Regions from separate parts of the Homo sapiens genome. Here region 1 is linked to region 2. Evidence: promoter capture Hi-C in 16 types of primary human blood cells and fetal thymus (Javierre and others, 2016). All regions are on one chromosome and are shown on one strand. The core of a region is centred on a gene start or on the middle of the fragment in contact, and the rest is flanking DNA. Distances in the headings are between cores, read along the strand shown. Region 1 overlaps LOC101929200 (a long non-coding RNA gene). Region 2 holds the start of BOD1 (biorientation of chromosomes in cell division 1).

Region 1 (4,447 bases), core at 1,637-4,136, about 170 Mb before region 2:
ACACATGTATCCACCGCTATGATATACAGAATTCTTTCACTGCCCTAAAAATCCTTCTGCCTGTTCATCCCTTCCTCCCCTATCTCAAACCAAGGAAACCACTTTTTTTTTTTTTTAAAAATGTCTCTATCATTTCCCTTTTCTAGAATGCCATATAGTTGGAAGGACACAGCATGTAGCCTTTTCAGGTTGACTTCTTTCCCTTAGTAATGTTCATTTAAGGTTTCCCCATGCCTTTTCATGGCTTGAGAGCTCATTTATTTTTTAGCACTGTATAATATTCCATGGTTTGTGATATGGTTTGGATGTGTCCCCACCCAAACCTCATCTTGAATTGTAGCTCACATAATCCCCATGTGTTGTGGGAGAGACCCAGCGGGAGGTAATTGAATCACGAGGGTGATTACCCCCATGTTGCTATTCTCATGATAGTGAGTTCACACACGATCTGAGGGTTTTATAAGGGGCTTTTCCCGTATTTGTTTGACACTTCTCTTTCCTACTGCCATGTGAAGGGCATGTTTGCTTCCCCCTTCCTCCATGATTGTAAGTTTCCTGAGGCCTCCCCAGCCCTGTGGAACTGTGAGTCAATTACACCTCTTTCCTTTATAAATTACCCAGTCTTGGGCAGTTCTTTATAGTAGTGTGAGAACAGACTAATTCAGTCTGCATGCATCCCAGTTGATTTATCCATTCACCTACTAAAGGAACATCTTGCTTTCTTCCATGTTTTGACAATTCTGAATAAAGCTGCTTAAATATTCATGTGCAGGACTGTGTGTGATGTTAAGTTTCAACTCATGTGCAGGATTGTGTGTGATGTTAAGTTTCAACTCATCTCGGTAAAGACCAAGGAGCATGATTGCTGCAGCTTTTGCTTTTTAACCTCACTGGATTATACTTTTACCCAGATATCAGCTGTTTAACATATTAATGTATTAATTCACTCAGCTTACTGATTCAGCAATCATTTCTTGGTAACTGATGTTTAGGAGACACGGTCTGGGTGTTGGGGACATGACAGTAAGTAGAGTGGGTTCTGCCCACTGGCACGGATGTCAGGGCACAAGGACTGGAGAGGATGATGCACACAGTGAGAGGTGCTGGGAGTCACACACATGCTGACTATGGCTGGCTGACCCCGTGACAGGGCGTGGGAGTAAAGAGGAGTCAGACAAACTCCTCAGTTTTCGGTCCTAGCAAGTGGGAGAACAGGGGCACATGCAGGCATCGTGCTGCAGGGAGATGCTCCTCGCAGGACCCAGGACAGAACCGGCTGCCAGGGATGGCAGCGACCATGATGGCTGTGGTGGGACAGGCAGACAGCTATCTTACCAACAGAACTCATGCTGCTTATATGTGGCGAGGAGACAAAGGAAAAAAAGGGAAGGACCAAGAATGATACCAAAAAAAAAAACCAAAAAAGTTTGATATTCAAAACTCTATCAAGGACATTTCCCATAGAAACTGGACTTGAATGGACCTTAGAGAACTGGTTGGATTTACTGCCTAGGATGGAAGGGGGTGCCACTTGCACGCCAAGCCCAATATTGCAGAGGGGCTGATTGGAGCTGTGCACTGTGAAGGATGAGAGCTGGGCACACACAACAACTGAGGAATTCATTGGGAGGTGAGTCAGAAGGAGGAGGAGGATGAAGAGGAAGAGGAGGAGGAGGGTGAGGAGGAGGGAGAGGGGAAGGAGGACGGGGAGGGAGGGGGAAGGAGGGGGAGGAGGAGGAGGAGGAGAAGGGGCTGCACATGCCTCAGCAAGGGCAGTACTGAGCAGAAGATGATCATAAAGTCACTTCCTCCATGTCTTGGTTTTTAAATCATTGCTGTCTGTGGGATTTGTCCTCTGGGCTCCTTCTTACCCCAGATGCAGTCTTGGGCACACACCCTAGCCTTTCCAGTCACTCGGAGACAACACAGTCCAGTGTGATGTGCTGTCACTTATTTCCTGTCTTCAACTTAGCTTCTTACCCATGGAGCTGGTGGCCGTTCTTAGACGCTAGCAAGATGGGTGTGGGTGGGTGGGAATGGGGCAAGACAGGCTTTTCCTCTGTTCCAACATTTTCCTTATTCACCAGCTTGTTTGTGACCCCTCCAAGCTTGGGGTAGGAGAAGGGATCAGGAGAAAAAGATGCAGTCTTTGTAACCTGGCTTCCCAAAGTGCTTGAGTCATAGTCCAAGAACAAAGAACAGGCTGGTGGGGTGGGCTTCTCTCCTGCAGCGAGCTCCTTGGGACGGAAGAGCATCTTCCGCACAGGACTGGGGCAGAGCTCAGCCAGGAGACCCACATTACACCCAGATTATTTTAAGAGAGAAAAGGTAAAAGCAAAACACTAAAATATCACAGGAGGAGCCACCGCAAGAAGCAGCTGACACCTTGGGCTGGAGAGAATAAAAGAAGGAGGAAGGAGTGAGCAAAACTCAGAAATGTGGAGGAGCTGCCACCCAGAAATCACACTCAGACATATGAAGAAGGGACCTTCTGGGCTGGTGCTGAGGCCTCTGCTCTTGGACTCAGGGCTCTGTGGAGCTGGGAAACCAACTTTGCTGGTATCTCCGAGGGGATGCTATGAGGCTGGCTCTGCGTGTGTCAGAGAAACTGCAGACCCAATTCGTATGCCGCTCTGTTCATGAACTGCCACTGCCAGGTGCGAAAGCAAGGATAGCAAGACGCTAGCAGGACCAGGAGTCGGACAGGACAGAATGGGAGGCACAGGCCCCTCTCCTACCTCTTATCTTCTGGTTTCCTTGTGTATATCTGTTGGCACAGCTGAACAGAACTCTGGCAGGAGAGGTGGCACGTGGCTCCCCAGTCCCTACGTCACAAGGCAGAGTATAAAAGGGAAGGTGTGGGGCCGAGAGACAGTAACTTAACCACCAGCTCAGGGTCCTGGGATTCATCCCTCTTCCAGTCAGCAGGAAGTGACAAAGAGCACAGGAAGGCCCTAGGGGCCAGGCCCCTTTTGCTGATGTTTGGCTGGTAGAACTTAATCACATGTCAGGTGCAGGGAGGCTGGGGAATAACTAGACAGAATAGAAACAAGTTTTGGTGAGTGGCTGCCACTGGTGCTGTGTGGATACAGTTCAAAGTGAGGACTTTCCAGCTGTGGACATCCAGCTACAGTTCTTTGAATGGGGGATGGAAGAGCAAAGTTTTATTTCTGGCTGCTCACTTTGCCTCAGCCTCGCTTTCCTCGCAGCTCCCACTGAAATGCCCACCGTATCCAGTATGCAGAACTCCTGCTCATCCCAGTGCGGGTGAGCATGCGGCTCAGTCACCTCCAACCCATCTCCTGGAGCTGTCCCACGGTTCCCTTGGAACCACTCTAGGGCATGTAGCATCTGACTCTGAGTGCTTCACTTCGTGGGGGCACTGATTAAAACAAAGCTCTGGAATATAGCATCATCGAGAGGCAACTGTTGATTTAATTTATTAACATATACATCCACTGAAATGGCTGCTAGATGTGGTCTAGAAACCAAGGAGACCCCCCACTGGCCTCAGGTGAAGGGGAAACATGTCCCTCCCTTTCCTATCCCTCCTCAGAGTTAGGTGGGACATGCCCTTGCCAGCTGCTCTACAGAGAATCCCCTCCTCAACACCTGTCACCTCTGAGCACCTGCCGCCTTCTTCCTCCGATCCCGGAAGCTACAAGAAGCTTCTCGTGTGACCAACTCTTACAGCCGCCAGGTGTTCACAAACCCGCAAGGCAGAGTGGGCTTGTCCTCCTTTACAGAGGGCGACTGCAATGTGAGAGTTGTGAAAGTCCTTTCAAATGTTGCTTTTTTTTTTTTTACTTTTCTCAATCAGCTTTCTCAGGTTGAAGAAAATTTTGCTTAATAATCATATCAGTTTTGCTTTCTATTTCAAACTAATTGTTTCAAAACTAAATTTTATTTGTCCGGTTTCTAAGTAACATCAGTGTTTCAGGAAGAAGCAACATGTTTACTCTCTGGCTTCAAATCACTTTGAGGGTAAGAGCTGAGGCTGTGAGCAAATTGCTGATGTCTGAGGACAAGTCGAAACCCCACCACTATAACCCTGAGTGTTGAGAAAAACTGGAGCAAAGACAGCTTAGGACTAAGCCTGGTGGAACGTGTGTGGGCGGATAGCAAAGTGGTTCCCACAAGACGCCTTCCACCCTAGGATGCCCCAGAGGATGGCCTTTCCCCTCAGCAAGAAGGTTCGGTTAAGTCCTAATACCGTCGGAAATTCTATTTATGTGGAAAACACACAGGGAAAGACAGACATCTTGTGGGCATATGGTAGCATTACATCACAGGTCTGGAAATTAATACCTAATAATCAGGGGGTCATATCATTGAATAACACACTGTTAGTCACAAACAATTCCATCAAACATCTCTCCAATTAAAAGAAACAAATGAACATATAGTTCATTTTTCTTACAGTTAAATGCATCAATTAAAAGCACAG
Region 2 (3,975 bases), core at 156-2,655:
TAGACTATAAGTTTTGAGGATGGGGTAGTGACTTATTCCTGTAATCGCACAGCTTGGCAACTAGAGGCCAATAAACGTTCAACGAATAAACAGACTACGTTTTTCCCTATCTTAAGGTCTAATTCTAAGCTCACAATCTTGCTGTGAGGTAAGCAAAATGTTTCCATGACAGGCTCTGGTAGGAGAAATCACTACCCTGCAGGAGTCCAGTGACAGGGTCTCCTAACCTACAACCACAGTCGTGGCTAGACAAGTTTTGAAAAGGAAGAAAATGAACATTCCAGCAACTACTGTATGTCTGATACTTAACACCCATTATTTCATTGAATCCAAACCACCCTGACGAGTAGGTAAAGTGAAATAGCGTTTTACTGGTGGGACTGACCAATGGCATTAGGATCTCAACTAGGCACCAAATCTCCTTTTATCAATGATGAAGTGCAAAATAAGGGTGCTGTTTCTACAATTTATCTTAATTCAACGCCGTACTAGTCTGCAAAACAATGAGCTAGAGAAAAGGAATAAACAGCTATAAAATGGTGATGACTGTGTGTTCAAATCATTGTGTTTAATGCCAGCTTCTCAGTGGTGAGTACGGAACAGGTGGAAATTCTAAAGCACGCTTGCTTATCTACTTGGTTTCGAAGTTTGTTATTAAGGGCCTCAGAGGAGTTCCATCTTGGGAATGATACGGTCTAGGCTCTAAAACCCACATTGAAACCCCAAGTTCGGAGAAGGGACTGGGTAAAATCACAACTAGTAGTAAATGTATCAGGCAGGAACCCACGTGTGCATCGCTCAGAAAGCTCTCCGTACTGCCCCAAGCGGTGTAAGACCTCACCGCTGAGATTTCTAAGCTATCTTTTGTTTTGCTCTCGGCTTTCGAAAATCAAAGCTGCCACCCGGCGGCCTCACGTGCAGCCCCGCTCCCCAACGCCCAGGCGGCCGCAGCTACCTTGGTGTCCACGTCGGCCAGGCAGTCCCGGCGGAAGCTGTCAAAAAGGCCCCGGCTCTTGAGCTGCTCCACGATGAGAGCGATGAGCTGCGGGTCGCCGGGAGGCAGCGAGGCCGGGTTGATGGGGCCACCGCCCCCGCTGGCCCCAGTAGCGCCAGTCGCTGCCCCGGCAGAGGCCTGGCTAGTTCCGCCGCCGCCCACCGCGCCAGTTCCCCCGCCGCCGCCGCCGTCCGCCATGGCTGCGCCCCGGGCCCACAAGGGAGAACGACTATAGCTTCTTCTCCAGGACAGAAGGCCTAGAACGTGTAGAGGTGGTGAAGGGGGCGGTGAAGGAGGAGGGCCCCAAGGCGGCAGCGGCGGAGGTGGCGATGGCGGCAGGGGCGGTGGTGGGGGCGGCGGCGGCGAAGGCCCCCTCTGATACAGCAGAGGTTGTGGTGGACGCGGCAGAAACGGCCTGCTCGATTCCAGGCGCACCCCAGATGGCGTCAACGTTGACCTTTGCATTGTGGGGCGGGAAGTTTTCTGTGGCCATCTCCGGCGTTCTTTATAGGCAGCGGCCTAGCCGAGAGAAACTACAACTCCCGGCAGGGTTCGTGCTTGCTCGTCGCGATTTCGCGGGGTAATATGGGAACTGTAGGCGCAGGCCTCGTGATCGCTGCAACCCGCCAGGCCTTCCCCGCCAGGCCTTCCCCGCCCACTCTCTGCTCACTTCCCATTCAATCAACACGTCCCAGCAGTGCCCGATTATAACAGTCATCTGTGGAGCTGATTAAAAGTATAGATTACCAGAATTATTTCTTAAAGATTTTTATCCAGTATTTACGGGTCGAGACCTAGCAATCTGTGCTTCAGCATGCACTCCCACGTCCTTCTTGAACAACATGTTCCGGGAAATTCCGGAAACAGTGGAACAGTCAAACTTCTATTGTTCAGAAATTTGTGAGTTTCCCTCCTTTTGGTTTTAATAGCAATGCATACTCATTTTAGAAAATTGGAAAATAACGGAAAAGTGTGAAGAAGAAAATAAAAGTTTTCCTTAAGTCTGTCTTATATGTGTGTGGATTTCCTCCCAAATATTAAATATTGTCAATCATAAGCCAATATTGAATAATTGAAAAGTGTCAGGCGTGATGCTATGCACTTTCCACGCACTTCTTCACGATAATTTAAAAAAGCAGATACATACTACTATTATTGCTATTTACAGACGTAGAAATGGAGGCAGAAGAAAGTTTGTTAACCTAATCACATACCTAGAGGTAGAAAAGTAGGATTTGAACCCAGGTTTTGAGGATCTAAATCTTGCATTTTAGCCTGAGGTATCCTGAGAGCTAGTTGGTATCCCACAATAGGTAAGGCTTTATATCCTGATTTTTTTAAGTAGCCACAATTCACCATTGGAATCCTATAGCTGCCACCATTATCCTCTCTTCCCTTCATCTTTTGCCTATTGTTAGCTCAGCTCCCCCTCCCAACCTCAGCAATTATGTCTGCTATTGTTGTTTCCTCATCTTACACAAGCAGCAGAGGGGATGTAAATAGCAAATTCTGCAATATCCTTGGCTCCTGCGAAGATGCAGAATTGGCAAAGATCCAGGATGTTCTCCACACCAATATTTAGTACTCAAGACAGTTTAATTTTTTTTTCTTTTTTTTTTTTGAGACAGAGTCTCACTCTATCGCCCAGGCTGGAGTGCAGTGGTGCAATCTTGGCTCACTGCAGCCTCCACCTCCTGGGTTCAAGCAATTCTCCTGCCTCAGCCTCCCGAGTAGCTGGGATTACAGGCGCATGCCACCATACCTGGCTAATTTTAGTATTTTTAGTAGAGATGGGGGTTTCACCATGTTGGCCAGGCTGGTCTTGAATTCCTGACCTCAAGTGATCTACCCGCCTCAGCCTCCCAAAGTGCTGGGATTACAGGTGTGAGCCACCACACCTGTCCAAGAGAGTTTAAATTAACCCTCAAAAGAAACATTCAGGTGTTGGATTATACTCATCCTCTAACACCAGCTCAATCATTCACAATGGGTCAGTTAATGACAAACATTCTCTCTTAATAGCTCACCATCCTTGAGATTACCTAATGTCTGTTCCTACTGGTTGACTCTACACTGATCACTCACCTTTAACCCCAGGAGAAGCCCAGTTCAGGCTGCCTCAGCCCCAGGTTCTTTCTTCTGCAAGCCCTTGATCACTCTGACTAGTCCCTTCTCCATTTTTGGCACCCCACATCTTACTCTCCTTCCTCAGGGAAAATTCTTCTGACCCCTAGATCCAATGAGATATTTCCTCCATGCTACAGAAACTCAAAGCCTCATTTTTTGTAGCAATTATTATAATTGGAAGTGAATGATTTACAGACAAATTGGCCACCTGAGTCCCCTGATAGGGTGTAATATTTAGAATGGGGACCACGACTTGTTCATCACTGTGTCTCCAGCTCTTAGCACGATAGTTCTTAGCTCAAAGAGAATGTATAAATTCCTGTCTGTTTCCTAAAGCTGTGGGATAGCATCACAGAGTGCGTGGGTAGGATTATGTGTAGCCATAATCTTCAGAAAAGAAGGAGCATTCTAGCAGGAGATGATGGATGAATCTGTCATGACTTAAATAGGTAAGTGATCCTGGAGATTGTCTGCACTTGGTTCACACTGTGACAATTTCACTATCTGTCATGGGGACCTGTGTCTTGGTTGCTGGGTCTCTGAACATTGACAAAAGGCTGCATTCTGTATCCATGACCTTCCCTCTGCAATCAAAGTAAATGATGAGGGATAAAAGGGGAAGGGGATGAGGAGTGAAGATGATCAAGCTGAAGGGAGGCTTATTATTTATCCAAACCGTGGAATAGGAGGCCTCCACAACATCCAAAATGTATTCTTCCCTTCAAGAGACATGTAATACACACCAGCAGTCATCAGAGAGCGCCATTGCTGTATTAATAATCCAAAACATTCGGAAATGGCTGTGCGGAACATTGTTTTAACTTTGGCTTAGGTAGTAATCTGGTTTTCAGGTA

Evidence for each region. Contacts are between HindIII fragments. The CHiCAGO score rates a contact against its expected background, and 5 or more counts as called.
Region 1: a fragment that was not itself captured here is called in contact with the fragment with the promoter of BOD1 in region 2 in 1 of 17 cell types (non-activated CD4 T cells); the score reaches 5.1 in non-activated CD4 T cells.

What each region holds. Positions count from the first base shown.
Region 1 is chr5:5,415,287-5,419,733 of GRCh38, forward strand. The region is part of intron 2 of LOC101929200 (a long non-coding RNA gene); the gene reads right to left. Among named protein-coding and RNA genes, the nearest start is that of ICE1, 5.2 kb to the right of the region's middle. RefSeq lists an enhancer at 3,997-4,066. The HindIII fragment of the contact is 1,560 bases long and covers 2,107-3,666 here.
Region 2 is chr5:173,615,245-173,619,219 of GRCh38, forward strand. BOD1 (biorientation of chromosomes in cell division 1) reads right to left here and starts at 1,406. Exons shown (of 4, transcript NM_138369.3): 1 at 956-1,406. The coding sequence starts at 1,192. RefSeq lists silencers at 1,213-1,262, 1,273-1,342 and enhancers at 1,323-1,582, 1,603-1,682. The HindIII fragment of the contact is 8,451 bases long and covers 1-3,975 here.